Linked DNA regions of Homo sapiens: all the other regions are linked to region 1. Evidence: promoter capture Hi-C in 16 types of primary human blood cells and fetal thymus (Javierre and others, 2016). All regions are on one chromosome and are shown on one strand. Each heading gives the region's core, a stretch centred on a gene start or on the middle of the fragment in contact. The rest is flanking DNA. Distances are from core to core; before and after follow the strand shown.

The links. Contacts are between HindIII fragments. The CHiCAGO score rates a contact against its expected background, and 5 or more counts as called.
Region 2: a fragment that was not itself captured here is called in contact with the fragment with the promoter of COL19A1 in region 1 in 1 of 17 cell types (naive B cells); the score reaches 6.8 in naive B cells.
Region 3: a contact is called between a fragment that was not itself captured here and the fragment with the promoter of COL19A1 in region 1, in 1 of 17 cell types (naive B cells). The highest score is 5.8, in naive B cells.
Region 4: a contact is called between a fragment that was not itself captured here and the fragment with the promoter of COL19A1 in region 1, in 1 of 17 cell types (naive B cells). The highest score is 5.6, in naive B cells.
Region 5: a fragment that was not itself captured here is called in contact with the fragment with the promoter of COL19A1 in region 1 in 2 of 17 cell types (total B cells and naive B cells); the score reaches 8.7 in total B cells.
Region 6: a contact is called between a fragment that was not itself captured here and the fragment with the promoter of COL19A1 in region 1, in 2 of 17 cell types (naive B cells and total B cells). The highest score is 5.6, in naive B cells.
Region 7: a contact is called between a fragment that was not itself captured here and the fragment with the promoter of COL19A1 in region 1, in 1 of 17 cell types (naive B cells). The highest score is 5.1, in naive B cells.

Annotation. Positions count from the first base shown.
Region 1 is chr6:69,865,279-69,869,616 of GRCh38, reverse strand. COL19A1 (collagen type XIX alpha 1 chain) reads right to left here and starts at 3,061. Exons shown (of 51, transcript NM_001858.6): 1 at 2,977-3,061. RefSeq lists silencers at 2,024-2,093, 2,104-2,153, 2,374-2,423. The HindIII fragment of the contact is 9,714 bases long and covers 1-3,963 here.
Region 2 is chr6:70,069,051-70,073,276 of GRCh38, reverse strand. The region is part of intron 15 of COL19A1 (collagen type XIX alpha 1 chain); the gene reads right to left. Among named protein-coding and RNA genes, the nearest start is that of COL19A1, 200 kb to the right of the region's middle. The HindIII fragment of the contact is 3,432 bases long and covers 1-3,045 here.
Region 3 is chr6:70,044,610-70,048,943 of GRCh38, reverse strand. All of the region lies in intron 14 of COL19A1 (collagen type XIX alpha 1 chain), which reads right to left. Among named protein-coding and RNA genes, the nearest start is that of COL19A1, 180 kb to the right of the region's middle. The HindIII fragment of the contact is 6,984 bases long and covers 1-4,334 here.
Region 4 is chr6:70,109,079-70,113,122 of GRCh38, reverse strand. All of the region lies in intron 16 of COL19A1 (collagen type XIX alpha 1 chain), which reads right to left. Among named protein-coding and RNA genes, the nearest start is that of COL9A1, 190 kb to the left of the region's middle. The HindIII fragment of the contact is 2,386 bases long and covers 467-2,852 here.
Region 5 is chr6:70,088,820-70,093,227 of GRCh38, reverse strand. The region is part of intron 15 of COL19A1 (collagen type XIX alpha 1 chain); the gene reads right to left. Among named protein-coding and RNA genes, the nearest start is that of COL9A1, 210 kb to the left of the region's middle. The HindIII fragment of the contact is 9,444 bases long and covers 1-4,408 here.
Region 6 is chr6:69,709,517-69,713,507 of GRCh38, reverse strand. All of the region lies in intron 9 of LMBRD1 (LMBR1 domain containing 1), which reads left to right. Among named protein-coding and RNA genes, the nearest start is that of LMBRD1, 85 kb to the left of the region's middle. The HindIII fragment of the contact is 5,858 bases long and covers 1-3,991 here.
Region 7 is chr6:70,014,761-70,019,013 of GRCh38, reverse strand. All of the region lies in intron 11 of COL19A1 (collagen type XIX alpha 1 chain), which reads right to left. Among named protein-coding and RNA genes, the nearest start is that of COL19A1, 150 kb to the right of the region's middle. The HindIII fragment of the contact is 6,043 bases long and covers 1-4,253 here.

The sequences.
Region 1 (4,338 bases), core at 1,812-4,311:
TCTTAAATTAATATATAATATATGGCCGTATTTTCAAATTCATCCTTTTTCCCATTTTTTTTCAATTTGAAGGGCTCTACTGGTTTTCTGATCTAATAATCTTAAAATTTCACAATTACTTTTGATTTCTCTTAAAAAGAGGAGGTCAGAAATCCTTTGTGCTTCATAACGTATGCATAGATAAGAGAGGCCTAATAGTCCACTCTGCATACATCATATTTCTATCGAATTTAATATGCAACTTGCTCACCTGATTATTTTATTATTGGCTTACAAAATAACACCCTAAAAAGCCTATTGCTTCTTAGCCAGTCCTTTCCAATCTCTCCTTGGCAGGTGCTATCTGCTCTACTCATCTCAGATTTCACCCCGCTTGGATTTTCTGTCTTACCAGGCACATGACTGTTTGCTCCTACCTCTAAGCCTTCACACATGCAATTTCTTCTGGCTGGAATGCCCTCCCTGCTGGATCTCTTCTGCTAAGCTAGTTATTCTCTGCCTGTTTAAGATGTACATCCTCAATGTGGCCTGCCTCAGATGACTCAATTCTGGTCCTATTCATTCTGGGTTTTTTTTTTTTCCAGCATCTTTTCAGGGTTATATATTAGCATATCTATAGCCCTACTTCCTTGCATTTCAGTTTATTTTTCATACTTCAATTGAATTTTCATTTGTGATGCCTCTTAGTCACACTACCATGGTTTCTAACTTCATATCTTCTTCCGCCTCTAGAACCATTGACTCTGTGTACCCACATTGGCATTTCTGCCTGCTGGAGAAAATAAACTAAAATTGCAGCAGGAGAGATTAAACTGGAGGACCAGAAAGTAGATGGAAATTTTCCATTTTTGGAAAATACCAACAGTTCCCATCTGTTTTGGATGGTTTTCTAGGATGAGAATGATTCAGATATAGAGATGATGTCCCAATTGTGGTAATAATCACATTTGGGTTTCTTTCACCTTTTTGCTCTTTCTTAGTCCTGTCCATTTCAGTTTCAGGTTCACTTTCCTGCTCTTTTGCCATACTGTCTCCCTCCTTTCCCAGGAAACCCCATTTAGGTCCCTTAGCACTTAGAGAGCTCAGGTAGGACAAAACCTAACGGAAGCACCTGACAGTTACTTTCTCCACTTTCTATCCCCTAGAGAGAGCATAAATTTTCTGCCTCTGGGGGTCACCCTCCTCTTTTTCATCCTGAAGAGATATTCCTACACAAAAACCCTGTCAGCCCTCCTCAGGAAGGGGCATTTATGCATGTTTTTCACCACTGGAATACCTAAATATCTCAGCTTTGCAGGCCCATATCAAAGATCTCTCTACTTAGAGAGGGTCCTGCAAGTTTCCCACCACTCAAAAACAAGGAGATGCCAAGACCCCACATACGAGCAGGGGCTCTTTTCTTTCTTTTTTTTTTTTCCCTTTAGTCTCCTAAAGAATTATAGCAGTGTTTGATTCGGGCAGAGGGGGAGGCATTGGTGTTCTCTCCTTTTTGGGGAGGGGTGGTGGTTGAAAATAGATACTGGTGTGCGTTTGTTTCATCTCCTCCATTAACAGGCAGATGTAAATTCCCCTACAGCAGAGTGATTATCCTCACATCTTAATCCTCCTCAGACTTATCCAAGCAGAAGATGGGACTGAGTCGTCTTGGAATTGGGGATTGAGGGAGGTGGCGCAATTTATTTCCCTTACTCTTCCATCTCCCAATCTCAAGCTGTGGCCGATGATCACTCTCTTGCCTCTATTCACGGATTGTTCTATTAAAACTACTTATTATCAGCATTCTGGGCCCTCCTCTTTTTGCTCTCCAGCCCACTGTCCCCTGAGGCTGACAAGGCACGCTGGTCCCCTCTGCCTCTTCACCTTCTCATCAAATGAAGCTCCTCGGGGGCTCCTGTGGCACCCGCCTGTCCCCCAGCTCCTCTGCCCACCCTCTTGCCGGCTTCCCGCTCCCTCCGTAACCTCTAAGGGGGTTCGCTTACGCGCCCGCCTGCTCTCGGGGAGCTAGCGTGCCCGACGGCGTGCTTGGTTCCGGGCCAACAAACTTCCTCGCGACCCTGCAGCGCCCTAGCTGGGCCGCCCGGCGCCGCCTCCTGGTTCTCGGCCGCTGTGGCTGCGGCGCCGGCGCGCTCTCGGCGGTGGCCTCGGGACTCTGACAGCGGAGGCGGCAGAGGCTGGGGCCGCGTCTTCCTCGCGCCGCGACTGGGACGTTCCGGCGGCGGCGGCGGTGGCTGCAGGGAGGACTGCGGGGACGGCGGCGGCGCTGTGGCCGACCGCGCTGCGCATGCTGCAGGGTAATTAAGGAACAGGGCCGGACGCTCCGGAACGTGGTGGGGCTGGAGTCCGGGAATCCCCGCCCGCGCCCGCGCCGCCCCCCAGAAGCCGCACTTGGGAAAAACACCCACATGTGGAGTAGGTAACCCCGGGCCGGAGGGCACCGCACCGGAACCCCGCGTCTCTTAGCTTACGCCGCTTAACTGGCTGCCTCGCTTCCAGGGCTAACACCGTCAAAAAAAAAAAAAAAAAGCGCTCTAACGGCATGAATTGATAGTGAGTTTGTTTTACTCCTTTAACCCCCCATTTTTTTTGTAATGTATTTGATGTCTGTCCCTACCCGCATCAGCAGTGCTCCATAGTTCCGCTTCACAGACACACATAGCCAGAAAAACCACCTAGAACTTAGGTGTAACGCATGAAGCCTGCATCATGTGAACATAGGAACACGAACTACATGGTATGTACCACATGAGAGTGGCCGTCTCCTGCCAAACGTTTTTGGTCCCATCCTTAAGGCCCCTATGGAAACGTATGCAGGTGTGCATTATTTATCCACCTAAACATATTTCCATGTGTAGCACAGTTTTTACATTTTCTTGAAAAGCAGATGCACACAGATAACTAGGAACACGAGCAGATGACATAGCCCGGGCATGTGTGAGAGGGCAAGTGCAGAGCCGGTCGCAAAGCCGCGCAGCTTACCTTGAATTCGTATTTGAGCCCCTCAGAGGCGCAGTGGAGTCCGGACAGGGCTGCGGCACCGCCGAGGAGTGAGCTCCCTGCGAGTGGGGAAGGGGGACGCATCTCTGCCCTTATTAGTCTCTCCCAGTGTGACCCTCCCACTCCGCGAGGACAGAGGACTCTGCAAGAAGGTACTCAGCCAACTCAGGCACAGGTTTTCTTTAATGACAGCGATGTCGCCTTAGAGCTGGGAGTAATGCCTTTCAGGTTTATGTTTTACTAGCAGTTTCACAGATAAAATGACGGTTGGATGCAAATGCCTAGAGTTTCTCACTTCTGATCATGAAGTGTCTTCAAAGTATTATTGTATGTGGCAAACGTTCACGAGTAGGTAATTGGCTTTTTAACGGTTGAGCTAAGAAAATATATCATTTATGTTTCATTTTTTCACTTTTATGTCAAGAGTTTATATAAAGTTGATTAAGGCAGTCTGCCCACCTTCTAATCACGCTCATATGTAAACGTTTGTGTGGCTTGGTTTTTCTCAGTGTCCACAGAAGTATTTTGTGATTTTAAATACATCTTTCCATGGGTTGGTGCTTCCAATCTTGGCTTTTGAACTCTTTTGGGATCCCTTTGAATATGTGAAAGTGTCATTTTCCTGCAGATTTCTGTGTAGGTGCATGTATGTGTGTGTAGAGAGAGTATATATATATTTGTAGGCATATATAGTAGGTTTATATACATATATAGGAGGTATATATGGATACTTGTAGGCATATATATTTGTAGGTATATATACATATATAGTAAATTTATATGTATACATATAGTGTATGCATATGTATGTGTATATATGAAAAACAGAATGATTTATAGAATTCAGAAGAGTAAACCAGGCATTAGAAAACAGATAAACTGGTTTTACATTTTTATTTCAGTATTGCCACAGTGGGAGAAATAGGATAAATTATATTATTGATCCACAATGGTGAAAATCATCAAGCTTAAAAGTTACCTTAGAACCATAGAAATACACTTCACATATCAGAGCTCACAGATCAAGGAATAAATAAAATCAGGCAGGCAAAAAATAAAGATGTTAAGAAAAATGTTAAAAGATAGCTCCTTTCCACTTCATTGGAGTGAAACCATTAAAGTATCACTTGTGATTTTTAAACTTCTCTCTCAACCTAATCAAGATACCTGCAGTTTTAGAGTTCGGCATTCATGGTGATGCAAACCATGTTTCTATGTCAGGATTTAAAACCACTTGATACATTTCCTTCTCATATGATTTTCATCACTAATTTTTGGCTGACTGTGGAAAGAGGCCAAGGAGGGAGGATATTGCATGAGTCACGCTACTCAAATGGCCATTTG
Region 2 (4,226 bases), core at 80-2,579, 210 kb before region 1:
GTGGCTCAGGCCTGTAATCCCAGAACTTTGGTAGGCCAAGGAGCGTGGATCACCTGAGGTCAGGAGTTTGAGACCAGCCTGACCAACATGGTGAAACCCCATCTCTACTAAAAATACAAAAATTCACCAAGCATGGTGGTGCATGCCTGTAATCCCAGCTACTTGGGAGGGTGAGGCAGGAGAATCACTTGAACTGGGGAGGTGGAGGTTGTAGTGAGCCAAGACTGCACCACTGCACTGCAGCCTGGGCAACAAGAGCAAAACTCTCTCTCAATAATAAATAAATAAATAAATAAATAAATAAATAAATAAATAAAATTCAGGCAATCTGGCCCCAAAGTCTGTGGTGCAACCTGTATGCTAAATTCCAAGTTGCTTGCACCATAAGATGAAAGTGGACATGTTGCTTGCCCTGCCCTCCTGTACTTTTGTAGGCTCCCAGCTCATGGAGGAAATGTGACCCAGCCCCTTTGCCATCAAGTGTGGGCTGGTGCAAAGAAACACATCTTGACGGGGGCAGGGGTAGGTAGGTTGATGTTCTCTGTGCTGTTTAGAATGCAAGGAATCCTGACTCCAGACACAGCTTCAAAGCCAGCTTGGAGCAAGCACTTCAAGGGAAAGTAAAACCTGCACAAAAATGTTGCAAGGAGGCAATCAAGAGGATGGTTGCCCAGAGAGGGGAAAAAGGACAGGCACAGGCAGAGAGGATAAATTGAGAGCAAGACAGGGCAGGATAGAGGGGTAAGTTACAGGGAATTTAAAACATAAAGTTTCTGTTCAGGATCAAAATTAGGATCCAGCAACAGAGTGCAAGAGTGAGGTGTCATCTTGGTCCAACCACACAAACTTCTGTTTGCGGCAGTAACTAGTTGATTCACCAGTAAATGTCTTTTTTCAGAGACCTAGAGGAACTTCTTTTAAAAAGACCAGGGTAGCTTCACGCTAACCTTGAGATTATTCAGATGTGCATTTAATGTGACTATAAAATGAAAATTCAAGGTTACATAAAAATTATTGTTTTCATTATTTTTGGGGAGAGTCTGTTTGTTAGGAATACTAAGAAATCCTGCAAGGAACCTACATCTTAAATGGAATTTTTATAATGCCAGTTCTTTTGCAATGTTTCTCATTAATATCCATGAACATGATCTGCTACCTGAAATATTCCACTTTTCACAAAGATACTTCTCTGGGTTTCCATCCAGTTCCTGTCCTTTTCCCTCCACCACAATCTCCATTGTTTGCCTCTCCTACCTCACAACTCATGCCCTAATTTCCTTACACATTTTCTTGAGATTTTTGTTTCCAGTGCCCTCCTCACTACTCAACCGAACTTCTCTCCCCTGGCACCAATTCCAGCCACTTCTCTTATCCAGCATCCCTCCACTTACTTTGTTCCAAATTTTAATTCTGCTGAACCCTTCAAGAATCTAGAACCGCTCTTCTGTTGACTTCTTGGTTCTGTACGGCCTTTTTCTGCCTCATGATGGATTAAACCCCCTCTTAACTTCCAGGAAGGCCCCCAACCCCCAATGCCATTCTGTTCTCCCTCATCGTGATCTGAAACATTCTCATCTGTAGCTTAGGATCAATATTCAACATTCATTGAATTCTAAAAACTGTGTGAATCCATAAAGGATGTAAGACTAAAAAATATGTCAACCAAATATTTTGCTTGCAGGGCTTCAAGAAGACAAAGTAAATAAATAAATAATGGCATATAAAAGATCCAAAAAATGAAAATCAGGAAGTTGAGAAATAAAACAGCCCATAAATTTCAGATACATATTGTCACAGAACATTGTTAAGAATAGCTTTTAAGTGTAAGAAGCACATTACTTCTACATTTTATTAAATGAACACTTTATAAACTAAGATTTAGCAGCTTAAATGATAATTAAAAAAATAAAATCAACTAATCAAAATTTCAAACAGAACCTTGGCGTGGTACTTGCAAAAATAGTGTTGCTATTATGCTTATAGGAAACTACACAAAGAGTTAGAGAAAAAGAAAAAGAATTCATTGATCAGAATCCTATGTCTTTCATAATAATAATAGCAATATTAACATGTTTCTATAATGTTTGATATTTTTCAAAGCATGTTTAAATGTGACACCCATGTTTGAAACTCACCATAATTGTGAGATATTGGTAGAGTAGTAGCTACTACGTATTTAATCATTGATGAAAACCAACAAGTTAATGATTTGTTTAAAATTAAATGTTCTGCTTTAATTAAAGTCATTATGTCTAGGAATAAAGTACATAAAACTTCACATATTTTATGTTTCATTTAAATAGCCTTAATGATAGTCAATACCTTCTTGGTCAACCACTCAATTAAAATACAAGAGGTTTTTAACATTGGGTAAATAAAAATGATTTTAAATTCCTAGATTTTTCTCACTATTGTTTTCTACTGCAAACTTTAGTGAAATAGAAAAATTATTGGTCTTAGCTTTCAGAATGTGCATCTGTATGTATACACACATATGTATATACACAGGCATACATGTACAAATACATTTATATGTCTGAAAGAGCTGAGTACTCCTTAACTATTGAGCTGAGAAGAAATGGTGGCACTCAGTTGGACCTAAATGTAAATATGTAAGAACGCTCATTTTTAAAATTCATTTGTTTCCCATTCAAGTAGCTTATAAAGTAGAATAAATCACTGAGCATATATGGATATAATCCAAATGCATATAATTATTTGTAAATGTGGATAATGTCAATAATACCTGCTCTAGCTACTTCTTTTGATAAATAGGGCATTTGGGAAAGAGCAGTAGCAATAATGACGAACTATGCCTAAAAGTGTCTATAAGTTCTATTACATTTTTTAGTTTCTGACATTATGTTACTCTTGATAGAAGATAAAAGTAATATAAAATTATCTGGACTATACGCATTTATAAATGGAGTAAATTTACATAAAATAGTGGTTGAACTTTACAATTTAACTGATTTCCTTCTTTATTATCATGGAAAATACATGTTTAATTTATTCTTTAATCTACTTTCTTATGAAATGCAAGCTTTGATAGGGTACAATTTTAATTTGAAGCATTATTATTTCTAAAAAGCCTCATTTAAATATTTTTTCAGTTCACCCAGTATCTAACAAGTCTGTCATAATTATCTTACAAGCCAAATCAAGAAATGTGGGTGGGAAGGTGGTAGGGTTCAAATACATTTGTACATGATTTGATTGTCACACTTTAAGGACATCAATGGTGGAAAAGATGGTAGCCTAGGCTGGTGTTACACAGGGTTGTCAGGCCCTGTTCTGTTCAGGATTTATTAACGATTTAAATGAAGACAGAAGGTAGGCTTATCAAATTTTAAAGTAGCATAAGGCTGAGGGATATTTCACTGGAAAACAGGATTCAAATCATTTTTTAAAAGCAAAAAGCCCCCAAAGAATAGAATGCTATTAGGGATTAAAATCAATAAAGATGAAATTTAACAACAAGGATCAGTTCCTACTCTGTGATTCAAAAAGGTAACTGTACAACAACGGGCTGGGTGAAGACCTGACTTAGCAGTTTTCATTAAAATAAAAAGGGAGGAGCATTTAATTGACCACATGTAGTACAAGTCAAAAGTACAATACCAGACAAAGGAGCATTGGCTCAATCTTAGGCCATAATAGTAGCATGTTGTCTGTGGTATGGGGCGTACTTGCCTCATTTTACTCTGCCCTAAGTAAGACCACATGTATCCAGTCTCATTCTCGACAACTCTGGAAAGCCAATGAGTGTTTTCTGACAAAGATTATTGGCATGTTGGAGAGTCCAGAATCCATACGATAAGAGAACAAGTTAAGAGAATTGGAATTTTATTAACTTGATAAAAGGTAAACCTTAGTACAATACACCACTGACCCTCAAATATTTGTAGTTGAGGAAAGAGACTTATTTTACAGAAGGCAGAACTGGGAATAATAAATGAGAATGTCTAAGAAACATATTTGGGGTTAATAATAAAAGAGAACGTAGGACTACAGTCAGAAGCTCAAGTTTAGGCACATCATCTAAACTCTAAGTCATGGAATGCTCATCAACAAGGGAACAGAAGTTGACAGTACCTGTACTATTTAGTACAAAGACTGCCATAAATAAGCACATGAGAAAGAACACACAAGATTTTTTGAGACTTTAAAATGGTTTGAAAATGATAATAATAACAGTAAAACACAAGAATGGGGTCCCCACTGCT
Region 3 (4,334 bases), core at 310-2,809, 180 kb before region 1:
GAACCTTTCTAAATGCCATCAGAAAATTATAAAATGGGTAAGCCTTTGAAAAATTATATGCAGCAAAGCACGTATTTATTTCAGTCATAAATCTACATTAAAATTAGTTTAATTCAATTCTATTCTAAGCATTTAAAAATCTTTGTGGTAATGCCTTATATTGATATATTAAATGGAACTAAAAAACGATTGGTCTCTAAAAAGGATTAGAATTATATTAATTCCAATTAACTGATTTTAACAAACCAAAAGTAAATAACTTTAAATTACAACATAAGAATTCTGGTAAAAAATAATTTTCTCTGAAATAACTAGATGTCTGTGTATAATATGAACAACTACAGTTGTACAAATACTTGTAAACTTTTTATACACAATTCACAAACGATCATTTTAAAAATGATCAACTTTAACCAATTGGTTGCTTTTTCTTAAACCACGTAGGTTTTCTGAAGGCAACGACAATGATTGTTGTTTGTTACTGTGTCTGCAGGGCTTAACACAGTATCTGGCACACAGTAAGCATTCAACTAAATGAGTGGGTAAAAGAGGAAGGGAGGAAAGGGACCATATCACTTACTGAGCAGTTATTTTTGTTTCTTGTACATACCAACTTAGAAAAATAATTATTTCAAAAATTCCCTTATGTGAACACTATATGATCTCTTGTGCATTAGGGGCATCTGCTAATTGAATGTCATTTGATTTATAAATGACCAGCTGAGATTTTCTCTCCGTTGCTTATGGTATTTAAGGTAGTTTTCTTAGAGTAAAAGCTATGCACCCTCTCTGTGCGTAATTTCTCACTGAAGCTGGATTTATGTGGGCTCCAAGGAACTGGTATTTAAGTATCATTTAGTAAGCATGTCTAAGGCACTTCTGCTGTTGACAGACTTAACCTTTGGCTTCTGCATAAACATTTGGTGCCATCTGGATGAGTATTTAATAACTTCCCAAAGAGACATGGCCAGAGCAACACAGCCATTTTCCTAGGAACTAAAATTAGTGGATATATTACATGAAATAGCACTGTTCTACCTTCCTTCACCTGTCTCTCCTCTGACATGACATGCAAAGACTGGAAGAGAAAAGGAGATAGAGATGTTAGCCAACTGTCTCATTTCACTCATAGTCCCTGTCTTGCTTCTGAAGCCTTAGTAATGTATTTCAGTAAAACTTTACTGTAAAAACAGGATTATATTATTTAATTGAGGAGAATCTGGCAATAGTATGTAATAGGAAGGTTATAGAACATACACAATTTGTGAAGTTACATATAAAGACACACTACATTTATATAAAATTAAGGTTTTAACAACAGATGACATATAACCAAAGAATTTGTGCTTATCGTACTTGAATATTTGAATGTAATGATTTACAACTAATATTTCAACACGAGAGGAAAAGCTAATATAAAATGCAATTTTTCAAATAACATGATTAAACCATGAAATATTTACCTTTAATAGAGGATTTTTATGTCAACATCTTCATATTTCAGAATAATTTATCAGATTTTCATTATGACCTTGGATACATTATATTTGATCAAATAAATGTGTATACTTATTATGATAAACACATTTTTCTTATTCAGCATTGGTTTTAGCTCACGTATATCTGCCTTGTAAATTACAAATATCAACAGAAGAGATAATTTAAGTTTATCAGTAACTCACTGGTTAAGTGTCATCTTGACATTAAGTATTTAGTTTTCTCACAATCAGAATACAGTATCTTAAAAAATGCTGATTCTGAATATAGTTTTGTTAACATATTTATTTTAAATAATTTAGAAAAGGAATTTTTATTCTTTAACAGGTTATTCAAAAGTGCCTTTTCTAATCCATCATTACTGCAACTCAATACGTGACAATGATATTAGCAATATGGCCATTCCAGATGTGGTAGAACCCAAATACCTTTTGAAAAAATGTGATTTGGTGATATTTTTAAAACGTGGAATTTCAAAAAGTTGGTACATATATATGAAAAACATATTTATAAGGGAATTTTTCTTTGTTGTTAATAACCCAGTTGCTTAGAGAATTTCAGCTGAATCACTGCATTATTTGACTGTATTTGGCTTCATTTGTGCTGTTGAAACCATAAGTCTCAAATTTATAGCAAGTTATTTCACATTTTTATGATTAGAATGCTAAATTTTACCATCTATGAGTTTAACAAGTTGCTGAGAAATGAAAAAATGAATAAGGCAAGACATGGTAAAATCTACAACTATAGATTAAAGACATTTTAATTTAAACTTTGTATCATAATCATTAGACAAATCACAGGAATTAAAACTTAATAGTCATTCATTCTTCACTGTAAGCCTGAAAATACAAACAGCACCAGTGCACTGAATCAGAACAATCCATTTATTCTAATTGGCCAGCACTCTGCATTAAAAAAAAATTGAATATTGGATAATTTTCTGGAAAAATTACTTTGTTGTGGAGTAAAATCAGAAAGAAAGAGAAGAAAATGAGATGAAGTCAGAAATGCAATGAGAGTTGAATCCTGTAAGACTTTGTAGGCCATTGTATGGAATTTGGGTTTTATTTAATTACCTGGGGAAACACTGGAGATTCCGAAAAGAAGAGTGACAAGGAACATTCTGGCTTCTTGTGTAAATCACGCAAGAAGAGCAAGGGGAGAAGGAGGGAGACCATTAATTGGCTACTGAAAAAATCAAGAGATTTATAATGGTAACTAGGACCAAGTAGTAATAGCAGAGGTGTGAGAATTGGTCAGATTCTAGATATTTTTTGAAGGCAAGGTCAATAGAATAAGTAAAGAAATGTGAAGGCTAACTCACTTATGTTTACAGGAGCAAGATATCTAAGTAAATTATAAGTTACTCAGCATTGTATTACAAAAATGGGCTTCCAGGATGGCCCAGTAGTTATATTAAATCAACATGCTCACAGATAGCAACTATAAATACTGAACAACATGTAGAACAACTACCTGAAGACACTGGAAACTCATCAAAAGCAGGCAGATACTGGAGGGGAGTCAACATTTGGAAAAATTAAACAGCATGGAGTCAGTTTTCTGTTTTTAAGATGTTTAGTCTGAGGACAGGCTCAAGTCTGGGTCATGGGTTAGCTAAATAGAAAGCCTACAGACTTGCTGGATTGAAAAATCTGAGGACAGAGTTTAGGGCAAATGCAATTCCTGTAAAGTAAAGTGGGGTTGGTTTGTCAAATCCTGAAATAAGTAAGGAAGTCCAAAATTCTGCGTATAAGCTCTCCCCAAATCTCTGGCTGACTCCTAACCAAACATACACAGTGCAAACTGCAAGTAGCTCAGCTTAGCTTAAAAGAACAAAACGGATTTCAGCTGTTGCCAGCTGTAGGAGAAACAGAGTTTGCTATGCGAGTCAAGCCAATTTAACTGCCTGCCTTAAAAATATATTAAAGCTCTTCAGAAAAAATGGAATTCAGAGTTCCTGTAACTTACCATTCATAGTATCCAAAATACAATAAAAAATTACTTGCCATACAAGTAAGCACCAAAACATAACCCATTCTAAGGAGAAAAGACAATCAACAAAGAACTACTTGATATTACTCAGATGACAGAATGATCGGAGAAAGTTTTTTTTTTTTTTTTTTTTTTTGAGACAGAGTCTCGCTCTTGTTGCCCAGGCTGGAGTGCCATGGTATGTTTTGGCTCACCACAACCTCCACCTCCCAGTTTCAAGTGATTCTCCTGCCTCAGCCTCCCAAGTAGCTAGGGTTACAGGCATGCACCACCATGCCTGGCTAATTTTTCTATTTTTAGTTGAGATGGCATTTCTCCATTTTGGTCAGGCTGGTCTCAAACTCCCAACCTCAGGTGATCCGCCCACCTCGGCCTCCTAAAGTGCTGGGATTACAGGTGTGAGCCACCGTGCCTGGAAAGATTTTAAAGTAGCTATTAAAAGTATTCCCAAGGACAGGAAGGAAAACATGCTCATAATGAATGAAAAGATAGGAAATAACAGCAGAGAAATAGACACTATTTAATATAAAATAAACTTCACTAGCTTAAAAATATAGTATCTATACTAAAAAATTCACATGATAGTCTTAACAGCAGAATGGAAATTAACAAAGCAAGAGTAAGATTGATAAGGGCTTATTGGAAATGATCCATTCCCAAGAAGATGGAATTAGATGGGAAAAAAATGAACAGAGTTTTATGGACAAGAGGGACATTATCAAAAATCTAACATATCTGCCACTGGCATTTCAGAAAGGGAAGAGAGAGAGAATGTATGTTCTGACTGCTCCACTGACTAGCCATTTCTCTGTCTCTCTCCCTCTACTTGGGCAACCCTA
Region 4 (4,044 bases), core at 410-2,909, 240 kb before region 1:
CACCATACCTTGAAAGATCTATAGCTCCTAAGTGTCTCAGTCTAAGATATCGCTAGCATCCCTGGTTCACAAGTTCAGAGGCAGTGCGATTAACAGGTGAAGGATTGCAGCAAAGGCAGCTCTGGATGTTGAATGAGAATTTTTCACATCTGCCACTTTGGACATTTTTCAAACTCGTTCCCCCGTGTATTCCAGGAAAGTGTTCACTTGAGCTGGGCTTGTCTGCTTCTGGCCTGCATACTGAGCTGTGTAATTGAGGGAACTCAAGCATAGGCCGTTTATGGTTGTATGAATAAGCAAAATACTCAATATGTGATCTGATTGTCTTCCAAAATTGCACAGTCCCTGGTTTCACTTGTCATTTTGGAACAGAAGTGGGAGGATGAGACTGTGACAGTGAATGCATTCAATGGGCATAATTAACCCATTTCATAAAAGCAGATTTTCTAAATTATGCTAGGAAGCTTGTAGATTTTTTAACACTTTGTTTTCTAAGGCAGAAAAAAATATATTTAAAGGTACTTATTTCCCCAGATATCAACCTAATTGGTGTAAAGCCCACTGCCTTATTGATAGAGTGGGACATTTTGACTGATCTCCATGGCATGATAGTTAGAAAAAAAAAGATTCCTCCCCTAATGCTGCTATTCTGCTTATCCATCCATAAAATGTTTCATACTCATCTCTCCCCAGTATGTCCTGAAAAAGGAAAAATATTATTTGTCAGTGTCCTGCAATATAAGGAGCAGCAGGAATCTTTAGAGTGCCTTGCCACCCACAGATGCAACATCAATGACCCAGTACAAGGTGATAAAAGCCACAGGGGCATGAAAACTAGCAAGGAGGGGAATGTGTGAAACAAATTATTTGTATCCAGTGGTGTCCTCAAAAGATCACCACCAACAAAAACCATACCTTAGGAACAACTGTGCCTCCATCCCCTTGTTTGACCTCAGGAATTTTTCAATATGCCACCAAAATCTGGAGGAAAGATGGCTTACATGGACCCCACAGGCAGCCCACACCTATGAATGCTTTGAGTTTCCATTTACTGTAATTAGGTGATAACATTCATTCTCTTTAAAAGTGTTGGTAGAATGACAACTCTTCCTGAGTTAAGAAAATGCAAGTTTCAAGGCACACTGCTGGGACTTAAGATAACCAGGCTGGTGGCACTAGCTTATACACTGCCAAGTTACATAGAGGCCAAGAGCATGTGCACAATTTGAATAGCTGGGGACATTCTGGGCAGCTCTGGAATAATTGGGTGATTGTGGTCCTCACTTTCAACTCAAATGTGTGATGTTAAGGTCTCTCCCTTATCTATAGGTTGTGCTAATGATAAATCTACAAATGACAATTCTTGGCTCAGCTGAACACCATGGTTATAGACAGTGTGCTCAGGAAAGTTCTAAAAAATAGTTAATAATTTTAGTTTTAAAACACGTGGCCCCATTCCACAAAGGATTTCAGTCAAAGGAGAAGATACTGATGATATCAGCCAGTGAAGAAGTAATCAGTGATATTAACTGTTACTAATCCCATAGAATGTTTTTCCTGCTTCTTAAAATGAATTTGAACTATTCTAAGCATGCTGAAAAGTACAGAAAATAATATAAATTGCAATGAGTCCAAAATCCTATGTTGTCAAATATTAACAATTTTGCGATATTTGCTTTGGGTCTTTCTACTTTTTAATGAATTCATTACAGACATAGCTGAAGACCCTTCAAATCTTATTTTCTGCCAACTTTTCTTCCATGTTTTAGGTCCCCTAGACAATGCTGAAAACTTGTTGCTTCTCTAGTTATATAATTTCCTTCAGTCTTTACTTTGATCATACTAAGCTATAGTTACTGATGTGCAGAGAAAACTGACTGCAAAAATTGAGCTGAGCTCCTTATTCATCAGGACCTAGAATATTCTTATTAAATGAAAATAATCTTTTCTTGCCTACCTCACAAAGATATACAGCAGTAAAATTACATACAGTATGGAGATCCTCTTGGAAACTATATCATCAAATGCAAACTATAAGATTATTTAGGAAACAAATATCCCGTTCTGAAAATTAAGGTTCTAATAAATCTGACTGGCCTTTGACTTCTCAAATCTTAATGTTTACCCAACACAAAGAAATGATGTTGAATCCAGGCACCATCACAACTAATTACAAGTTTGGTGACCACAGATCAAGGATTTCAAATAGTCTGTCTCATCGTTGCTGTAAATAACACATGTCAGTCCAGATGTCTTAATAGTTGGTTTCAAGAACATAATACAAGATGAAACAAGCAGTCAGTGGCTGTACAAATATAATATTTTTTCCACCATAATGTTACCACTATTAGTAAAAAACACAGGAAGTCAGAAAGTGACTAATAATGTCCTACTGCTGCTGTCCGTAGGGAGAGAAAAAGAGAAATAATTAGAAAATAAAACCTGAGAGCCAGTTTTCAAAATCTCAACCTGATATCCCCAGCTGCCTCACATGCATGTCTATGTATTCTGTGGTCACACAAGGTGACACTGGAATTTTAGCAATGTTGGGAACAGCTGTTTTGTCTGGGACCATTACCCCCATGAGGGACAAGTGGCAATAAACATGATTAACTAGCCATGTCTCCATTTTATAGGTCTTATGTGTCTATATTTTTAAATCTGAGAAAGTGTCATCTTACTTTTTTTTAAGAAATGAAATTCCTATTCCCATTGACTCAAATAAATTGTTAGGTTCATTTTCTCTGAAGATATTACATTGCACAGACTTTAGTCATTTAACAGAAGAGATTGTGGTTCTCTTGCTGAAAGGAAAACTGAGCAACATGACTAAGCCCTGATCAGTTCAAGCTTCTAGAAGGGATGTTAAGAATTTGAATTGGATTCCCATTGATACATGATGAGCTTCAAAATGCATGTAGTCACATTCAAGGTATTCTGAGGGTATTTTAACAAGTGATCAAATGTTTCACTGAGACAGTTTTTGTCATCTGCTTTATTCAGCAGTCCAAAAATGTGTTTTGGGACACTAAATTGTTTTAGAGGTGGGTCCTGCTATATGCTGAAAATAATAACTTTCCTTTCAGTTTTCAGTGCATAGTAAATAAAGTTGGAGACGGAAGATACTCAAGTTGAGAACAGCGATGGATAAGGGGGCACAAGTGCCGGAAGGCACTTAGTTCTATGGCGTTTTGAGGGTATGTATTTTCATTGCCCCAACTGTTCAACTGACTCAACCTATAGCCTATCAGAAAGGAAACATCAGATTTAGCTGTGGGGAAAAAGAAAAGACTTAGATGTGATGAAATTCTCCATCTCTAATGACCAAAGTGATATCCAGTGGATTCAGACAAGACTGAAATTAAATGGGCTACAATCAAACCTTTGTCAATTTTGTTTTCTTTCAGCAAACAAGCCTATTCCCCGTCCACTCAAAGACTAAAGATAATGGGCTAAAAACAATATTACCTTCAGAATAATTTATTTGAATCAGTAGGAACAGTAATTTCATCACATAAAAAAATCAAACCGCTGCAGATACACACACACACACACACACACACACACACACACACACACACTTACAAAACGGAGATGTAACTGGTTATTTCATGGCTACGTGTATCTCTCCACTTGCCCCCCAACCCTTCTTTTCCATTCTTATAAGGCCCTATATGATGAAGCCATTCAGCTCCCAAATCTTTTCTGGCACTATTCTTTTCTTAGCTCCTTTATGTTTATTGAATACATCAAGCTTTTCCCCACCTGAAGCTCTTTGCAAGTCCTGATATTTCTGTTTGGAAAGTTCTTGCTCTGGCCCTTACATGGCCAGCTCCTTCTCAAGGAATGTCTTCTGCTCAGAGACACCTCCCTGGACCACCTCAATTAGATGGTAATGAGAAGAACATCTCCTCCTTCCAAATCATTATCACATTACCCAGTTTATTCCCCCCATAGCACCTCACTCTAAACCGAAATTGTTTTGTCTATTTATTTAACTGCTTATTAACCATTGGTGTACTGCCTCACCACAGACAGTAAGTT
Region 5 (4,408 bases), core at 1,853-4,352, 220 kb before region 1:
GCACACTCCCATACTGGAGAAGGGGAATTTGGCCTTTATATACATTGCCTTCCTGTCTGAGAATTATGCTGCCAGGCTTCCACATCTCTAAAACATTCCACTTTCACAATGCCTCATGAATGAAGACTTTTCTCCTTCACTTTTATTATGGGAACTGTTATGTTTGTAGGTTTAGAGTCAACAAAATTGACATGCAGAGGGACAAATAATGCATATAAAATGATAAGTCTTATTTAATAGAAATGTTAAAATAAAAACAGTGTAGTGAAGTTCATCTACAAACTTCAGACAGGTCAGAGGCTAAGCCCGTGAAACAGGAACAAGCTCAGCATCACCAGTGAGCATTGGAACAAATAATCATTAGTAATATTTGGATATCTTGATTTCAATTAAGGTAAAGTGACAGGACATAGTTTCAGTATTTCTGAGTTACATAATCTAAAAGATATACTCAAGGGGTAGAATTTTAGAGCTACATATTCAGTGTCCAGGATTGAATTGACTAGTACAAAATAAGTTCACAGAACTACATTTTGCAGTCATTCAATAACTGTCTGACAAATGAAGAGAACTCTAGAGGATCAGTGAGGTGGAACTATAAAGGTCACCCAATTTTGAAATGGAAAAATTTTCCTTATGTAATTCTCTATTAATTGAAGTGAATTTAATGGATTAAATTGCATTTTGATACTTAAGTGCTGATTTCAGAAAAAAACCCTATCAAAAAGATGTGAGTAAGTTTTATTTGGCAGAAATTTACTGTCTGTTTTACCTGCTGTGTTGGGGAAAATATATTAAGATGATTAAGACCTAGAGCTTGCCTTCATGGTGGAAGAGAAGGGACAATTATTTGCAACAGGCATTTAGACAGACTTGTTCATTTGGTTATAGATGACCTCAGCACTCCAGTTTCCCTCTGGAGTGGAGGGATCATGGGGATAGGAGGAAAATGTGGGTAGAAAAAGTCATTTACATAACCTCAGCAACAACCTGGGACATTATATCCCCTGAAAAGTCCTCAAACAGGGACAGCTTTCCCTGGATGCACCTGCGGTAACCTGTCTTAGACGTGTGTGCGCTCTTCGGTTCTCTTCTCTTCTGATACTTATCCCCAGGCTTTAGATCAAGTGTGTTCAGACGGCATTTCCCAGCTCACCACTTCTTTTTCTTGCATGATTGATTTAAATATTTGGAAAATGTATCGATGACCTTTAAAAACTGAACACTTGGGACATACTATTGTACAAAACCGAGAGTATTTTTCTTTATTTGAATACTACTTTTCGCTTCCTTAAACTTAACATCCAATGTCACCTGAAGCTGTAACTGGGTAAAAGTAATTTGAAGTCTGTGCTTTACAATTTACCTTCCCTCAGCTCCCATCAGATCCAACATTTCCCAAAGTAAGGTTAGGGTTTCCTGGGAAAGCTGGTGACCCAGTTGGTCCTGCCGGCAGCAATTGTTGGTCAGTCGCCAGATTCTTTTTATGTTCTTTGACTTTTTCTCTGTTCACCTCTAGGGAAGTATCCTAAAGGCAGAAACCCTAAATACATCTTGTTCCCCTCATTCCTGCTACATCTAGTACATATGCATTTACATTTACAAAACTCACATAACCAACTCAGCTTTCTCAACTACATAAAATTTCCATTATGACTTTTAAACTCTATTTGTTCACCTGCTGGCTTTTCGCTGTGTTTTTATAAGATATTTTCCCCACTTTCAGCTGGCATGTGCCCAGAATTGTTCATAAATTAATTTAAGAAGTATTTACGAAGTCCCTATTGTGGGTTAGATGCTTTACCATGCTCTGGAAATACCTTGAATTCTGTCTCAATAGAGCTTATATACCAGTGGGGACAATAATAGTAATAGATGCCAAATATCATTCAAAGAAACTTACACATATTTATTCATTTAATCCTCAAAATATATTTGAGGTATTCCCATTTTAAGGGTGAGGCAAATTAGTGACAACATAACTTGCCCAAGGTTATGGGGCCAGTAAACACCAGAGTTAAGACTCGAATCCAGGCAACTTGGCTGTATCATCTCTGACCATTACCACTAGGCTATACTTATTGCATCTCTAAGAACTAAATAAATAAAGATACGAATTTTGGATAGTGATAGGAAATACAGAAAAATAAAGCAGGGTAAGGCAGTACAGAGTTATACAGGAAGGTGTGCTGTTTTAGATAGAAAAATCAGGGAAGCCCTCAGCAGAAATGTGAACAAAGTGAGTCCAAGGATCATGCAAGGTCTGAGAAAGAGCATCCAGGTGCATCCAGGGAAAGCTGTCCAGTAGAGGGAACAGCAAGAACAAATTCTTCAAGGAATAGAAAGAAACACAGGTTGCTAGAGAAGAGCAAGTGTGTGGTTGGGTGGCAGGCAGGCCAGATTAGGCTGGGCCTTGTAGATTATGGTGAGTGCTCTGAGTTTCATTACTGTGATTGTGATGTGAAGCCGTTAGGAGTTTCGTCTTAAAAAGGTCATATTATATAGGTTGGTATAAGCACCTGCTTAGGTAGATAATAGGCCAGAAGGTAAAATTGCCACCAAATTCATCATTTAATACAGAAGCTCAATAGAACTAATTTTAGGTTATCTGTTTTAGATTGCTTATAACACTTCCTTACAGGTGTGTAGAGTCGATTATATGTACAGTCATCTCTTGGTATCTGTGGGAGATTTGTTCCAGATCCCCACTGTCCAATACCAAAATTCATAGCCATTCAAGTATCTTATATAAAATGGTATAGAATCTGCATATAAGCTACACACACCCTCTCATATACATTAAATCATCTTTAGATTACTTATAATACGTACAATGAAAATGCCATGTAAATAGTTGTTATATTGTAATGTTTGGGGAATAATGACCAAAAAAATGTCTGTACATGTTCAGTAAGATGTAACCATATTTTCTTTTCAAATATTTTCAATCCATGGTTGGTTGAATCCACGGATGTAAAACCCACAGATACAAACAGCTGACCGTATAACATTTCCATTTCCATTTCCATGTGCAAATCTTTTTTTTTTTTGAGATAAGAGTCTTGCTCTGTCACCCAGGCTGAAGTAAAGTGGTGTGATCATTGCTCACAGCAGCCTCAACCTCGTGGGCTTAAGTATCCTCCTGCCTCAGCCTCCCAAGTAGCTGGGACTACAGGTATGTGCCACCATACTTAGCAAATTGTTAATTTTTTTGTAGAGATGGGTGTCTCTATGTTGCCCAGGCTAAAAAATATTTTTAATCTTACATTAACATTTTATGTAACTGAATATAGTATCTATTATTCTCTGATATTTACCCAGCCCATTGTTTTTGACTGGAAAAAAAGATATACAGTATAAGGAAGTGAGATCTATTTCATCCTTCATTATAAACTATAGTTTTGAAAACAGAGAAAGCTGCATTGTGTAAGTAGTCCTACAAGACTTATAAAAGGATATTAATAATTTAATGAACTTGTACTCAAGGGAGAAAAGTGTTCTTGAAACATGTCAGGATGAATTTTCAAGGGAAAGGCCTAATTAGCAGTGTCTGAAGCATATGTCATCACATTTAGAAAACACAAACCAGTCCCTGTGGACAGAATGGTAAGTTGGATTTTGAAGCATTAACTACTCCAGTTAATATGTATGATTAATGAGCAATATGTCAGTTGGCTGGCCTAACTCAAGTGAAAGACCTTGCAGGAGAAACAAGGATGTTTAAACTCATCCACAGAAATATGCAAATGTAGTTTATTGTCTCATTTATATTTTGATCAACCAATAACTTAGAGATCTTATGGGAAATAATGCCATAGTTTGGGCATCTTTTAAAATATAGAATCAAAGCTACAAAGATGCCCTAAAAAATACATGCCTAACTGTCCCATTGACTTTGCAAATGAGAGCCTTGAGGGGTTAATGAAAGAAAAAAAGCCCTTATCTTGGATCATGGCTGACAAACCAACAACTGAGAAAAAACTATACATTTAAGTAAAGTTATATTGATCTTTTTCTTACACATAATAAAGTATTTTTACCAGATGATTATTTGGAAAAAGTCAAATTGAAGAAATATGATTTAAATCCATTCAAAAGAGAAAACACATGTAGGTGAAATCTATTTGATGTCAAGATCTCCAGAGGCAAAGAGAAAAATCCAGTCACTTGTCTATGGGATTCAAACATAAAATTACATGGCAATATTCATACGTTCATTTAGATGTTTGAGCTCCTGAAGACAGACCCTTAATTTAAATCTTTCAAAAATCAACAATAACTAAAACTACAGGAGCTAATGTTGGAAACAATCGAAGTTACAGATTTTTTACTACTTTAATGAGAAATCAACTGCCACTTAGGAACACAAATGAATGGGAAAAATAAAGACAGTCTTGTATCAATGATA
Region 6 (3,991 bases), core at 831-3,330, 160 kb after region 1:
TCACAGCTCTCTTTGGTAGTTTGGGTAAGGTGCATAACCTTTCTGAGCAATGTATTACAACAATTGTTGGGAAATTAAAATAAAAATATAGATAAGTATTGCAATATGCTGCTAGCATATTCTTCAAGTTTATACTTTCCTATAAATTGATCTGGGACTTAGAGCTTAGGAGCCTATGCTTTCTCCTAGTAGATTTACAGATTCAGGTCTTATGTTAAGTGTTTAGTCTATTTTGATTTGGTTTTTGTGTATGGTGTAAAATAAGGGCCTAGTTTCATTCTGTTGGCGTGTTCATTTTTTCCAGCACTATGTTGGATTGACTATCCTTTCCTTAGTATGTATTCATGGTACGCTTATCAAAAATAAATTGACTAGGTTTGTGGATTTATTTCTAGGCTCTCTATTCTTTTCTATTGGTGTACATTTTTGTTTTCATGCTTTACCATACTGGTGTTTCCTCCCACTTTTATGGAGATGCAATTGTTTCTTTTAAAACTGCACATAGTTAATTAATGCAATTTGGTGAGTTTAAATATACATATTCATTTATGTTGCTATCACCACATTCTGGGTAATGGGCATATCCATCACCTCCAAAACTTTCTATGTTTTCCTTTGTTGCTGTTGTTGATTTGTTAACATTTAAAATGAGATCCATTCTTTCTAAGATTTTATATGTACCACATATTATTGTTGACTGTAGGCCCTCTCATGGCAGACCTCTGGAACTTATTCATCTTGTGTAACTGCCTCCCCTTAGATGACAACTCTTTTTCTCTCTTTTCTGCATTCCCTGGTAACTACTATTCTAATTTCTATATCTATACTTTTTCCTATTTCAGGTGTCTCACATAAGAATTGTGCAGTGTCTTTCTGTGCCTGACTTATTTCACTTAGCATAATGTCTTTCAGGCACATCCATGTTGTCACAAATAAGAGGATTCTCTTATTTTTTAAAAGGCTGAATAATGTTCCAATTATGTATGTGTGACATTTTCTTTATGAATTTATCTATTTGTATGGGTTGTTAAAACTGTGAGAAACAAAATGACTTTAAAAAAAAAAAACATAGGAACTCTGACAGTAATAGAATTTGCCTCATTGTTAGATTATGTTTCTGAAAGTATGTTAAAGATATTATTTGACATGGAAAATTATTATTTTCTTTTTTTGGAAACCATTGTTTGCCAGCCTTGAATTCTTGGGACTATGGTACTTAAACCTAATTACCTAGAATGAATTAAGATCACTTTAATATGGCTGAGACTAAAAAGTAACAAAAACTGTTGGCCACAGACTTCCAAATATGCTCATTGTATATCTGGAAGCATTTCAAACACCAGACCTTTGTATACAATAGCACACAAGTTGTAATTCAGAAAATTCAGTCAGTGGACTAACTTGAAGTTAGGCAGAATGAAGCTGGAAAGTGGGTTTGTGCTAAATTTTAAAAGAAGTGGTTCAACATGGACAGACAGAGGGGAACAACACACTCTGGGGCCTTTCAGAGGGTGGAGGGTGGGAGGAAGGAGAGGATCGGGTAGAATAACTAATGGGTTCCTTGCTTAGTACCTGGGTGATGAAATAATCTGTACAACAACCCCCATGACGCAAGTTTACCTATGTAGCAAACCTGCATTTGTACCCGTGAACTTAAATGTTAAAAAAAAGAAAAAGAAATGGTTCAAAGAACCATTCAAAGATGAGTCAGTCAGGTTCAATTTGGGTGCTGCTTTCTCCACCTTTTATAATTAGAAAGAAATGCACTAACTGCTCACCCTAAAAAGCGCCTGGTTTGAAAGAGATTTTTAAAAATATACCATAATCAGTTAATTTTTCTATATAATCACTTTTTAAATCTTCTGTTAGAATAAATTTTTAAAAAATTCATCCCAGTTTTTTTTACCCCAAGGTGATTTGTCTTCATAGCACTGAAAGTATGATGAAACTCTCTCCAGCTTTATTTTAATCCTAAATTGTTTTTAGGTTTTTATAAATATTTATAATCTGGTCTCTAACATCAGCTGCCTTCTTTTATATATGCTATGTTCCATTTCACCAAACATATGTTTAGAAGGATTTTCAAATCAACTTTACTAAGTGTACAGACTGGTTTTGCCCAATATAGATAGATAGGGCATCCACATCACTCGAAAAATCTACCTCATGCCCTCTCTTGCTCCCCTGAGCTCAGACTTTAGGTAATTATTGATGTCCTTTCTATCATTAGAGGTCAGTTTTATGTGTTCTGGAATTTTAAATAAATGGAATCATAGAGTGTACAATCTTTTGTCTGATGGCTTCTTTGGCATGGCACAGTTTTTGAGATTTGCTCATGTTATTATTTAATACTATTTTTTTGCCCAGTGGTTTATTCAGTTTTATTGTTCGGTGGTATTACAGTGTGTGTCTGTATCACAATTTGTTTATTCACTCACCCTTGTTGGTGGAAATTTGGGTTGTTTCTGGTTTGAGACTATAATGAATAATGCTAATATGAACACTTTTGTACAAACCTTTGTGTAGATGTGCTTTCATTCATTTCTTTTGGATAAATACTTGAGTAGAATTTTTGGATCTAACGTTTAATATGTTTATAAGAAACTGCCGAAGTTGTTTTCCAAAAGGGTTACAACCGTTTTGCATTCCCACAGCAATAAGAGATTGCCCATTGTTTCACATTCTTGTCAACTCTTATGTAGTGTCTGTAAGAGTTATTCTTATGAATATGCAGTAGCATCTCACAGTTTTGCTTTGCATTTCATTGGTGACTAAATGATATTTAGCATCTTTTTGTATGCTTATTGGCTATTTTCTGTAAAATGTGTGTTTAAATCTCTTGGCCATTTTCTAAATTAGGGTTTTCTATTATGAGTGAGATACAAGCGTTCATTATATAGTCTGGATCTAGCACTTTGTCACATATATGTATTGTATCGTCTCCTAGTTCGTGGCAAGTTTTCTTTATGTTTTTGGTTTCTTAACTGTAATTCAGATGTTTCTTAAATTTTGATGAATATTAATTTATATGTCTATTTTTGGTTCATATTTTTGTGTCCTCAGAAATGTTTGTCTATCCTAAGGTAAGAAACATTTTCTTCTAGAAATTTTGTAGATTTACATCTTATGCTTGGGATCATGACCCCATTTAAGTTACTTTTGTGCTATGGTATGACTTAAGGGTTAAGGTTCATTTTATTTTCTATGTGGATATCCAATTGTTCCAGCATAATTTTTTTTTCAAGACTATCCTTTGCTCATTGGCTTTCCTTGGAAGTTTTGTCAAATAAATTGATTGTAGTGTAAGTGTGGGTCTATTTCTGGAATCTCCATTCTACTCATTGATCTATATATGTCTTTATGCTAATACTTGGTTAATAGAGCTTTATAATCTGCCATGAAGTTAGGTAGTATAAATTATTCAGTTTTATTTTCCTTTTTCAAAATCATTTTGGCTTTGCCAAATCCTTTGCATTTTCATATAAATTTAAGAATCAATTTATAATTCCACAAAACATCCACTAGGATATCTATTGGGATTACTTTCACTCTTATAGATAAATTTGGGGGAGAATTGATATATTCTATCCATGAACATGATATCTATTTATTTACATCTTAAATTTCTCTCAGGAATGTTTTGTAGTGTTCAAAGTAGAGGTCTTAAAAATATCTTGATAAATTTACCTCTAAGTATTTTTTATAGTCTTGCAAATTATGTTGTTTAATTTCAGTTTTTAATATTTGTTGTTAGTATGTAGAAATTTGTCTTTGTATCTTACTCTTATATCCTGCAACCTGGTTAAATTATTAGTTCTAGTACCTTCATTGTAGCTTCCTTAGGAGGTTTTCTTTTATACATGATCATATCAGCTGCTAAAAGACAGTTTTACTTCTTCCTTATAAGATTTGTAATTGCTTTTATTTTTTACTTTTCTAATTTCACTGGCTGAAACCTCCAGTACAGTTATTCTTTTTGTTAGTAAATGTG
Region 7 (4,253 bases), core at 742-3,241, 150 kb before region 1:
ATTTCACCTCAAGCCCAATCCTCCCCATTACTTTTCATTTTCTGCCTCTGGGATTTTTCTGAAGCCAGAGAGTTTGTTCAGCCCTGGCAAGGTATCCTGGAAAAATGGGGGTAGTTAATGCTTCTAGAAATAATTCTCCAGCAAAGGGTGACAGGAATTAGTGGATTAATGTGTCAGCTTTCTGTTCTACAGAGGGATAATTTCCAGGCACATTCTACAGGCTTCCTCAGAGGATTTCCAGTAGGACTCAGCTGCAGTTACCCACAATGATACGTAGCTCAAAACATGCACCCTTTAATTATCTTTCCCTTGTTTCCTGACTTATTTTCCCCATTCCGTCACTCCTGTATCCTGAGCTCCCTCTCAAATCAACTACCTGACCTAAAGTCATTGTCTCGGACCTTGTTTCAGGGGAATGCAAGTGAAGACAATGTCTATCAGCCCCCAATGCCTTCACTTTTGTCCATCCATGATCTGTCATTCCAAGTGTTTTGTTACCACCACTCTAAACACCCTTGCTCTACTAGCTTTCTGATGGAGCTAACTCCAGTGAATCAAACTGTCCACCTCTTGTTCCTAGAGAAAAAATATACAATTGGGTAGACTGGTATTATTATAAATTCATGATCACTAACCTAATTCTAGGTCCTTAAAGAGTGCCATTCCCCTCAAATCCTTGGTATTATGACTTCTGCTTTTACTCTCAAAAACCTTGCTTTCTACCAAGAAAAAAGAAGCCATCATACAAGCCTTTCCTTGATGCCATGAAATCTACAAATTCACTTATTTTAAAACCATTCTTTACTCTTCTACATGGAACAATTATTCCTTACTGTTTAATGGTAATCTTTCAACCTGTGTTTTCAATCCTATCTTTTTCTGCTCCCTCATTATGGCCCTCTTCTGAATCTTCAGCCTTTTCTCCCTCACTTCTTTCTAACCACACTGAAACATGCTGTTGAATCTTCTGTTAAAACAAAATCTTGCACTTCTATATCCTGTCATTTCCAGCTTCACCTGGAAGGAAATCCTTCCTTTTTCAGATAAACTTCTTGAGCCAGGCTCCCAATACTCCTGTTTGCATTCATTACTCCCACTCACTCTGCAGTTCACTCCAGATTGACTTGTACCTTATTTGGTCCTCAAAAACTGCTCATGCCAAGGTCTTGGGTGACCACCATCAGACACCTTTTAGTCTTTTTCTTCCTTAACCTATCTGAAGCATTTGATATCTTTATGACAAGCCCCCTCCTAGAAATACTTACTTGCTGTGATACTATATTTCCTTCATTTTTATTCTACCTCTGTAGCTGCATTTACTCATTTTCATTTTTGCTAGATCCTCTAAGTGTTGCTGCTCCACAGGGATCTGTCCCAGCTTCTTATGTTTTCCCTTTCAACAAACTTTCCCTAGATGTTTTCTCTACTTTTACAGCTACAATGATCATCTATATGCTAATGAGTCTCATGTTCCTACTTCCAGCATAGATATCTTTTTTATTGTTTAGCTAACAGTTTTATTAAGGTATGATTTACTTGCCATAATACTGATACACTGTACATGTAGGGTGCAATAGTTTTAGTAAATTTATATAGGTCTGCACCCATCACCACAACCTAAGACTAAAATACTTCCATCACCTAAAAAAGTTTCCTTGTGCCCATTTGTAGTCAACTGCTTCTCACTCTTGTAGTCCCAGAAAACTACTGACATAGTTTTTGTCTCTATAGTTTTGCTTTTTTCTAGAAATTTCATATAAATAGAATTATACAATATGTAGCCTTTTTTGTCTAGCTTAATTGATTCAACATTATGCTTTTGAGTTTACCCATGTTGCATGGCTAAGTAGTTTGTTTCTTTTTGAGTAGTATCATTTATGTGGGTACACCATATTTTATTTATTAATTCACCAGTTTCTTATTTTTAGATATTCTAAATAATGCTGCCATGAACAATAAAATAAACATCTTTTTGTGGACACAGATTTTTACTTTTCTTAGGTAAATACCCAGGAGTTCAATTGCTAGGTCATAATAGGTAAGTATGTGTTTAACTTTCTAGGAAATTCCCAAACCAGTTTCCAAAGTGCCATTTTACATTCCCATCAGCAGTGTATTAGGGTTCCTGATTTCCACATATTCTCACCAATTTTGTCAATCTTTTTGATTATAGCCATTTTAGTGGATGTATAGTATTTCATTGTGGCTTTAATTTGCATTTTCTTAATGATTAATGATCATTTCCTCTGCTTGTTAGACATTCACATATCTTCTTTGAAGAATCATCTATTTAAATCTTTTTTCCATTTTTAGTTTGCCTTCTTATTTGTGAGTTGTAAAAGTTCTTTATGTATTATTGATACAAGTCATTTATCAGATATATAATTTGCAAATACTTGCTCCCAGAATATGGTTTGGTTATTTTATTCTTGAAATAATATTTTTAAATTTAAAAAAATTTAACAGCTTTATTGAGGTGTAACCAGCATACAATAAGTTTCACATATTTAACGTACACAAATTTGATGAGTTTTGACACATGCAAACAGCCATGAAACCATCATAACAATTAAAATAACAAACATTTCCATGTTTGCTTTGTTTTGTTTTGTTTTTTTTTTTTCATGTGTTTTTTTTTTTTTTTTTTATTATACTCTAAGTTTTAGGGTACATGTGCACATTGTGCAGGTTAGTTACATATGTATACATGTGCCATGCTTGTGCGCTGCACCCACTAATGTGTCATCTAGCATTAGGTATATCTCCCAATGCTATCCCTCCCCCCTCCCCCGACCCCACCACAGTCCCCAGAGTGTGATATTCCCCTTCCTGTGTCCATGTGATCTCATTGTTCAATTCCCACCTATGAGTGAGAATATGCGGTGTTTGGTTTTTTGTTCTTGCGATAGTTTACTGAGAATGATGGTTTCCAATTTCATCCATGTCCCTACAAAGGATATGAACTCATCATTTTTTATGGCTGCATAGTATTCCATGGTGTATATGTGCCACATTTTCTTAATCCAGTCTATCATTGTTGGACATTTGGGTTGGTTCCAAGTCTTTGCTATTGTGAATAGTGCCGCAATAAACATACGTGTGCATGTGTCTTTATAGCAGCATGATTTATACTCATTTGGGTATATACCCAGTAATGGGATGGCTGGGTCAAATGGTATTTCTAGTTCTAGATCCCTGAGGAATCGCCACACTGACTTCCACAATGGTTGAACTAGTTTACAGTCCCACCAACAGTGTAAAAGTGTTTCCTATTTCTCCACATCCTCTCCAGCACCTGTTGTTTCCTGACTTTTTAATGATTGCCATTCTAACTGGTGTGAGATGATATCTCATAGTGGTTTTGATTTGCATTTCTCTGATGGCCAGTGATGATGAGCATTTCTTCATGTGTTTTTTGGCTGCATAAATGTCTTCTTTTGAGAAGTGTCTGTTCATGTCCTTCGCCCACTTTTTGATGGGGTTGTTTGTTTTTTTCTTGTAAATTTGTTTGAGTTCATTGTAGATTCTGGATATTAGCCCTTTGTCAGATGAGTAGGTTGCAAAAATTTTCTCCCATGTTGTAGGTTGCCTGTTCACTCTGATGGTAGTTTCTTTTGCTGTGCAGAAGCTCTTTAGTTTAATTAGATCCCATTTGTCAATTTTGTCTTTTGTTGCCATTGCTTTTGGTGTTTTGGACATGAAGTCCTTGCCCACGCCTATGTCCTGAATGGTAATGCCTAGGTTTTCTTCTAGGGTTTTTATGGTTTTAGGTTTAACGTTTAAATCTTTAATCCATCTTGAATTGATTTTTGTATAAGGTGTAAGGAAGGGATCCAGTTTCAGCTTTCTACATATGGCTAGCCAGTTTTCCCAGCACCATTTATTAAATAGGGAATCCTTTCCCCATTGCTTGTTTTTCTCAGGTTTGTCAAAGATCAGATAGTTGTAGATATGCGGCATTATTTCTGAGGGCTCTGTTCTGTTCCATTGATCTATATCTCTGTTTTTGTACCAGTACCATGCTGTTTTGGTTACTGTAGCCTTGTAGTATAGTTTGAAGTCAGGTAGTGTGATGCCTCCAGCTTTGTTCTTTTGGCTTAGGATTGACTTGGCGATGCGGGCTCTTTTTTGGTTCCATATGAACTTTAAAGTAGTTTTTTCCAATTCTGTGAAGAAAGTCATTGGTAGCTTGATGGGGATGGCATTGAATCTGTAAATTACCTTGGGCAGTATGGCCATTTTCACGATATTGA